Regions from separate parts of the Homo sapiens genome. Here region 2 is linked to region 1. Evidence: promoter capture Hi-C in human tissues and cell types (Jung and others, 2019). All regions are on one chromosome and are shown on one strand. The core of a region is centred on a gene start or on the middle of the fragment in contact, and the rest is flanking DNA. Distances in the headings are between cores, read along the strand shown. Region 1 holds the start of VTI1B (vesicle transport through interaction with t-SNAREs 1B). Region 2 overlaps PLEK2 (pleckstrin 2).

Region 1 (3,877 bases), core at 466-2,965:
CTTGGTCATGTCTATGCTCAGTGCATATTAAGAGCTTAACCAAAGTGTGTTGAATCAACAGCCAATGAACTTGATCTAATAAAAATGAGGGCCCAGGAGATACAAATTAGCAAAGCATTTTCTCCTGAGCAGTCATACATCTTTTAATATTTGTAGGCAGTTTAAAATTGAACTCCCAAGCAAACATTTGAGAACAGACACCTTGAGCAAACCGTGAAATCGGTGAAAATAATAATTTATTTTAATTTTTTGAGATAGGGTCTTCTCTGTCACCCAGGCTGGAGTGTGGTGGCACGATCTCAGCTCACTGCAACCACTGCCTCCCGGGTTCAGGCGATTCTCCTGCCTCAGCCTCCCGAGTAGCTGGGGTTACAGGCGCCCACCACCACGCTTGGCTAATTTTTGTGTTTTTAGCAGAGACGGGGGTTTCACCATGTTGGCCAGGCTGGTCTTGAACTCTTGACCTGAAGTGATCCGCCCGCCTCGGCCTCCCAAAGTGCTGGGATGACGCGTGAGCCACCATGCCCGACGTGAAGACAGGAATTTATACCCATGGAGTGCAAGAAGGGACCTTGTAATTTTTAACACGTGACACTTAGTGGCAGATGAGACCTAATGAAGCCAGGCCCACCTTCCACACCAGATTATAAATTCCCCTGGAGCAGAGATTAAATGTTTTATTCACCAACATGCCCAGATCCCTCGCAATGCCTACGCTTGACAAACACCTGTTGTCAACAAGTGCACGAGGCAGCCTAGGAGGAGAATTAGTCTCCACGAGGAGAATTACTCGGGCCTAGCAGCTAGAGTATTTCGAGGTCATCCTAACTGGGTTCCACTTTTGAATTTTTGGTTTTTGGGTTTTTTGTTTTTTTGGAGACAAGATCTCGCTCCACTTGGGAGCAAGGTCTCCCAAAGCTGGAGTGCAGTGGTGGGACCTCAGCCTCCGGGGGTAGCTGGGGCCAAAAGTGCGCGCCACCATGCCCGGTTCTTATTTTGGGTTTCTGGTAGAGCTCTCGCTATTGTGCCCAGGCTGGTCTCGAACTACTGGGTTCAAGCAATCCTCCCACCTCGGCCTCCCAAAGTACTGGGATTACAGGCGCGAGCCACTCGCCCGGCCGGGTTCCACTTCTGAAAGCTTGGGGAGCCGCTGGGCCTTCCAAGAAAAGTGCTCCACCTCCCGACGGCAGGCAGAGCCCCTGGCCCGGCTATCTTTCCAGGGCCGAAAGCTAACAGTCAAGACGCGAAACGAGGAATTCGGGTCAGGGTGGCAAAGCAAAGCGCGATGACAGTGAGGACGACGTCTAGACGCAAACATACATCAAATCGGGCCGAAGCCCGCTGTCGCCGCGCGGGCTGAACCTGGCACCCGGAGCAACGCGCGACCCCGGGACGAGACGCTCTCGTCCGAGCCAAACTACATCCCCCGGCGTGCACTGCAGCGCCCGCCCCTCGCCGGCCGGCGGGGCCCGGGAGGAAGGCGGCCGCGCTGCCAGTCCCGCAGGTCCCCTAGGCCCCTTTCGCTGCGGCCTTTCCCCAACCCGGACCCGGCACTTCTCGGGTTCCGCGACTGCCGATCGCCCCGGCGCGGCACCGCTCCCTCAGGAGTCGCCTAGGCCGCGCAGTCTCCCGACTTCTCGTCAGGCTTTCGCGCCGGCGCTCCAGCAATCACTGGCTGGAGAAGGTGGGCGTTCCGGCTCGAGAGGACCCTGCCGCGGCTCCGGAAGAGCCTCGTCCTGGGCGGCGGTGGTGCGGCGGTCGCCGTTATGGCCACTGGGCTGGGCGGCTGACCGCCGGGCTAGGAAAGGGCCCAGGGCCCCGAATCTCGGTGGCCGCTGCTCCAGCGCGGCCTGCGCCATGGCCTCCTCCGCCGCCTCCTCGGAGCATTTCGAGAAGCTGCACGAGATCTTCCGCGGCCTCCATGAAGACCTACAAGGGGTGCCCGAGCGGCTGCTGGGGACGGCGGGGACCGGTGAGGCGGGGGTGGGCCACGCCGTGGGGAGCGCAGCCCTGCGCGCTTTGGAAGGAAGATTCTCCCACCTTCCTCCCAGACCCGGGCCCGCGTCTCCTCCCTCCGCGTCCTCAGACACGCCCCCTAGGGCTGGCTTGTCCCAGCCCCAGGTCTCCCTGCTGCCACTGAGAGTAAATTGGACCTCGGGATTCAGTTCCCTGGGATCCTTCTATGGCCTTCCACATTTTCTCATCTTTTTTCACTGTGGCAAATAGAGCAGAGGGGCTTTTGCATCTGCGGTCCTGTAATGTAGAGTGGGTTTCTTTCATAGCTGTTTTTGTTTGTTTTATGCATTTAAAAGCACTAGTCTCAAGACAGGTCTAGTTTTCACCAGACTGACAGAGGATCCGTAGCACAGAAAAAGGGTTAAAAACCCAAAGGAGTCATAATTTGGGGGTGTTGGTAAATACCAGTTATTGGAGGGTAGAGAGCTGGCCTTTAAAACCTGATTGTGGCATTTAGATGTGGTCTTGTTTTGAACGTTTTTACAGCTGAGACTGTTTACTACCCCTTAATTTCATGATTCAGGTTGCTACAAGTTCTGTCTGGAGGAGCTAGAGTTTTCCGGCCCTAAATCCATAGGAAAAGCTGCTATAGTTCTTGGCCTCCGGATATATAGAATTTGATGGCAAGGACAAAACTTTGTTTTATTGCTTTTATTTAAGAGTCAGAGCTTGGGTGTTTGCTCAACGAATTACTCAAGGTCATAGGAATTGAATGACTGGTGAGAATGAAATTCATGTATTTAATATATATTTATTGTGAGGCTGCTGTGTGCTAGGTGCTGGTGAATTGTGAGGCACCGTTCTAGGTGCTGGTGAATATTGCAAATTACAGTGAAAAAGATACGAACATCCCCATTCTAGTGGGTAGGTGATAAACAATATATAACTATTAAGAGGCAGTGTTAAAGAATACAGGAAAGTAAATCAGAGTAAAAGAATAGGGGATGGGACTTCAGTTTTATTTTATTATTTATCATTTTTTTTTTTGAGACAGGGTCTCACTCTGTCACCCAGGCTGGAGTGCAGTGGCACGATCTCGGCTCACTGCAACCTCCACTTCCCAGATTGAAGCAATTCTCCTGCCTCAGCCTCTGGAGTAATAGGGATTACAGTTGCGCCACCACCCCTAGCTAATTATTTTTGTATTTTTAGTAGAGACAGGGTTTTGCCATGTTGGCCAGGCTGATCTCTAACTCCTGACCTCAAGTGATCCGCCTTCTTTGGGACTTCAGTTTTAAATAGGGCGGTTGTGAAAGTCCTCTCTGAGGAGATGGCGTTTGAACAGAGACTTAAATGAAGTGAGGGAGTAAACCAGAAATCAGGGAGAAGTGAGTGTCAGAAGGAGGGAATAGCACTGCAAATGCCTTTAAGCAGAAATGAGCTTGGTGTGTTCAGCGAAGAGCAGGAAGTTCCATGTGTTTGGGATGGAGTGAGCAAAGGAGAGCGATAAGCAGGGCCAGATCATGTAGGGCCTTGTGGACCATGGTGAAAGACTTGTGCCTTTTTCTAAATATGATGGGATGCAGTTAAAAGATACTGTGCAGAAGCATTGTGGGATCTGATTTATGTGATTGAAAAGTAGACTGCAGGCAGGGTACGGTGGCTCACACCTGTAATTCCAGCACTTGGGGAAGCCGAGGCGGGCGGATCACTTGAGGTCAGGAGTTCAAGACCAGCCTGGCCAATATGGTGAAACCCCATCTCTACTAAAAATACAAAAATTAGCCGGGCATGGTGTCAGTTGCCTGTAGTCCCAGCTACTCAGGAGGCTGAGGCAGAATTGCTTGAACCCAGGAGGCGGAGGTTGCAGTGAGCCGAGATCATGCCACTGAACTCCAGCCTGGGCAACAGATCAAGACTC
Region 2 (3,877 bases), core at 911-3,410, 280 kb after region 1:
AAGGCTACCTGGCCAAGCAGGTATGGCTGCTATGAGCAGGGAAGAGAGATGGACAGTTCTCAAGCTTAGGGGAGGGAGCAGTGAGCCCAGAAGAAGGGAAGGGCTGAGGCTGCTGGAGGGCACCAATTACAGCAAAATCTACGAAAGCAAGAGCCCAGCACCAGCCTCCAGGAGCAAGTCAAAGAACAGGCATATGCCCACACTCACACACACATGTGTACCAGACACAAGGGCTGTTCGGGAAAAATGTACTACACACACACACAATTATCACAACATCAAAAAACAACTTCTACACAATTGCCCAGCTTCACATATTTGTCTTGGAAGCTTTTGCTGACTGGCTTGAGGTTTTGCATTTGCTGGCCTTCTGTTCCTTGGGGCGTCCTGGGGTCTCTGCCTTCCCTTGTGAGATTCTGCACGCCTCCTTGATACACTTTCTGAGCTAAAAACAATTTTCTCCACCATGTCGGTAGGTTGAAGATCAGATTCTCCACTGTAAGGCTCCCTATTCAAAGCCTGGCCATGGCCACTACTCCTAAACCGTGTTTGGGAGAGCAGCTATGTTGAACCAGAGGCAAGCCGTGTCCTGCGGCATTCCTACCTGTGCCTAACAAAAAGGGTATTCTGTGAACAAAATCACCTGTCCTTGGCCCAGGAAGTGTAGCAGACATTTTGCACAGCCTTCGTGTTTGTGCACATATTGTATACCATGTGAATGTGTGTGTCTGCACAGAGGGCACCTACACGGCTCGGCACCACTCCCATCGTTACTCGGAGCATGTGCTGTTGCTGTCACCTGCTTCCTGCATATCAGGATCCTCATCTGCTCTTAGATTCTTATCATCCCCACTGCTGCCTGTCTACACCAAGGCCCTGCTTCTGCTGGGCCTGATAGGAGTCCTTCCCGAGGGGAGGAAGAGAGGCCCCTAGGGGAGCTTGAGGAGGGTGTGGGAGGGACTCTGAGGGTGTTCCTGACTAGGAGGGCTAAGGTTTGTGATCTAACCTTAGCCCTCCTGGTCAGTGAGGCCAAAGAAAGTCACACACACACACACACACACACACACACACACATATCAGCTGCTTACACATTTAGATTTTATCATATAATTGATCGTTTCTTGCTTTTTTCCTAATGCACAATGTGAAAGTGGTTTTACTGCACATGTGGGCACACGTGTAGACTGACAAATATACATGTAGCTGTAGGTTTGTTTTTGGACTGACTTGGCCCTTAGCTGGTGCCCTTGGGTTCAAGTTTGCCTGTGTGCTCCCAGCCCAGCTGACACCTGCTGCCTCCCTGTCCTCCTTTATGCCCTGAGTATTGTGTGTCCCCTTTCCTTCTGCATGGACTCTCTTTGGCTCTGCTGACTTGACTTAAGGTGATGGCATTTTTGCTACAGTGTCACTGAGTGGGGGTGTTGGCAGGGAGGTCTGTGACATGTCATTGCTATCCTCAGGTTTCCTGTGGACTGGTTTTAGAATGTAGTCCCATTGGAGCGGGCTGGCTTGTTGGGGGTTTGGCATTACATGCATAGATACAGGAGAGAGGGACATGCAGCTGTCACCAATGAGCTTTGAACCATTTCTTTGCCTCAGGGACACAAGAGGAAAAACTGGAAGGTGCGTCGCTTTGTTCTAAGGAAGGATCCAGCTTTCCTGCATTACTATGACCCTTCCAAAGTGAGTGCGCATGCTGGCTCCATGTTGGTCCCATGTTGTGATGCCCCCAGACACTCCTCTCCTGGCATGGCGGGCAGCTGGCTGGATATCCTGCCTTCCCCTGGCACCCGCCGTAAAGTCTGCTGCACCATGCCTTTCCTTCCACAGTCCAAGCTGCTCTGCCCTGTCATCACATAGGTGCCTGCTTCTTGAGCCGTTTCTTCCATGCCTAATCCCCCACTTTCCCATGGGAGGGCATCTTTATCATTTTCAGAGGAAAAGCATCTTTTGGTCTTCCCCAAAGCCTGCTTTGTGAGTAGGGAGGATGAGGTAGGCTGACAGAGACTCCTACTGGCACTTCCCAGCCTCTCCACACTTTCCATTCAAAGATCCCATTAATTCTGCCTCCCTCCACTTTTCCCCACCTATGTTTTGAAAAGTTTCTGTCACCATATAATATTTAAGCCATAATTTACTAATTTGCTTTTTAAAAAACTTTGATGGCAAATTAAAAAAAAATCATTTTTATGTTTCTGATACTAGGTATTACCACATGCTAAGTGGATCTAATTCCAGTCAAAAGCAAAGAAAAAGGGCCCTTTAGTTAGCTGTTCAGCCTTGTCTTGGGCAATGTATGACTTTCATTAGTTTTTGTTGAAACAGTGAAGAGTGGGCAGTTCCTTCCTCACTGAGCTTCAGTCAGGAACCCCTGCCTGGACCCAGCTAGGCCAGGGCCAGGGAGGGATGTGGCAGGAGGAGCCTCCAAAAAGCTCCAGTTGACCTCTCTGTGGGGCATGGTGGCCTGGCTACAGGATGGAGTTCAAACTCCTTCCTTTCTGGCTACCTCAAATCCTGTTTGAAGCAAGGAAAAAATAAACAAATGAAAAAACACTTAAAAAAAAAAAAAAGAAAAAAAACACTTTAGTTTTGTATTTAACTCTCACCATGGTCTAGCCTAACCTACTTTCTTTGTGCCCCTGATGAGTCTGCTGTCTCAGCTTTTAAAATAGGAAACTGAGAAAATATATACACACACATACGTGCCTATACACACCTATCTATAAATACATATACATGTAAATATACATATATACATATATATGTACACATGCACAAATGCTCATATACATACATAGATGGAAACAGTGCAGAAGAGATTACTCAAAGCAAGTGTGCAAAGGAAATAAAAGAATTGCCAAATCTCTGGGCTGCAGGTACAAGATAAGGAACCATCTCAAAAGCATTCTGCAATTAATTTGTTCCGCACTTTACTCCCACTCTTCCTCCTGTTTAGGCTGAATGCCCCTCTCCTGTCCTGGGGACCTACTCTCCTATCCAGGACAGGACTCTCCTGTCCTCCCTGAGACTGCCCTTGAACCCTCCAGGCTGGGGCGGATCCCTTCCTTCTCTGAACTTTCCTCCCGTTGGCATTTAGTAGTACAAATATTTCCAGTATTTTATTTAACCATTTTATTTTTTGCCCTACCTCTTGCTGGGCCCAACATGCAGTATGAAGTTGATTATTGATTAATTGAAGGGCTCCTAGGGCCTGAGGCACGAGGTGTGTAAAGTTGCCCTGAATCGTCCAGGGATACCACCAATCGCAGTTTTGTATCACACGAAGTTTCTTGCTAGGCACATACTAGATTTGTGTAACGATGTCCTATGTGCAGGAATCTATCAACTTTGCAGAAATGATTACTATAGCTGGGTGCAGTGGCTCATGTCTGTAATCCCAGCACTTTGGGAGGCTGAGGAGGGCAGATCACTTGAGGTCAGGAGTTTGAGACCAGCCTGGCCAAGGTGATGAACCCCTGCCTCTACTAAAAATACAAAATTAGCCAGGTGTGGTGGCGTGTGCTTGTAATCCCAGTTCCTCGGGAGACTGAGGCAGGAGAATCGCTTGAACCTGGGAGGCAGAGGTTGCAGTGAGCCGAGATCGTGCCTCTGCACTCCAGCCTGAAAGACAGAGTGAGACTCCGTCTCAAAAAAAAAGAAATGATTACTATAAATATATATTTCTGATTGCTTTGTAAGATGCACACAAGGGTTAAGGAAGCCAGTGAATGTTTTTCCGGGTAGCATATTGGATCAGAGGCTCTGTTTGAGACATCTCCAGGAATGAAAAGCAGATTTGCAAGTCTGTGAGACTTGGTAACTGCAACATTGATGGGCACTACTGCTGCTGGCTGTGAAATGAAGAGGCCCAAGCTTC

The links. Contacts are between HindIII fragments. The study calls those that stand out against the background at their distance.
Region 2: a contact is called between a fragment that was not itself captured here and the fragment with the promoter of VTI1B in region 1, in 1 of the 25 tissues and cell types used here (mesendoderm cells).

Annotation. Positions count from the first base shown.
Region 1 is chr14:67,672,470-67,676,346 of GRCh38, reverse strand. It overlaps VTI1B (vesicle transport through interaction with t-SNAREs 1B), which reads left to right and starts at 1,715. Exons shown (of 6, transcript NM_006370.3): 1 at 1,715-1,972. The coding sequence starts at 1,858. It also overlaps a transcript of GPHN not described here. RefSeq lists silencers at 1,391-1,830, 1,931-2,040. The HindIII fragment of the contact is 11,558 bases long and covers 1-3,877 here.
Region 2 is chr14:67,388,469-67,392,345 of GRCh38, reverse strand. PLEK2 (pleckstrin 2) reads left to right here. Exons shown (of 9, transcript NM_016445.3): 6 at 1-20; 7 at 1,600-1,683. It also overlaps a transcript of GPHN not described here. Among named protein-coding and RNA genes, the nearest start is that of PLEK2, 22 kb to the left of the region's middle. RefSeq lists a silencer at 2,760-3,054. The HindIII fragment of the contact is 3,925 bases long and covers 198-3,877 here.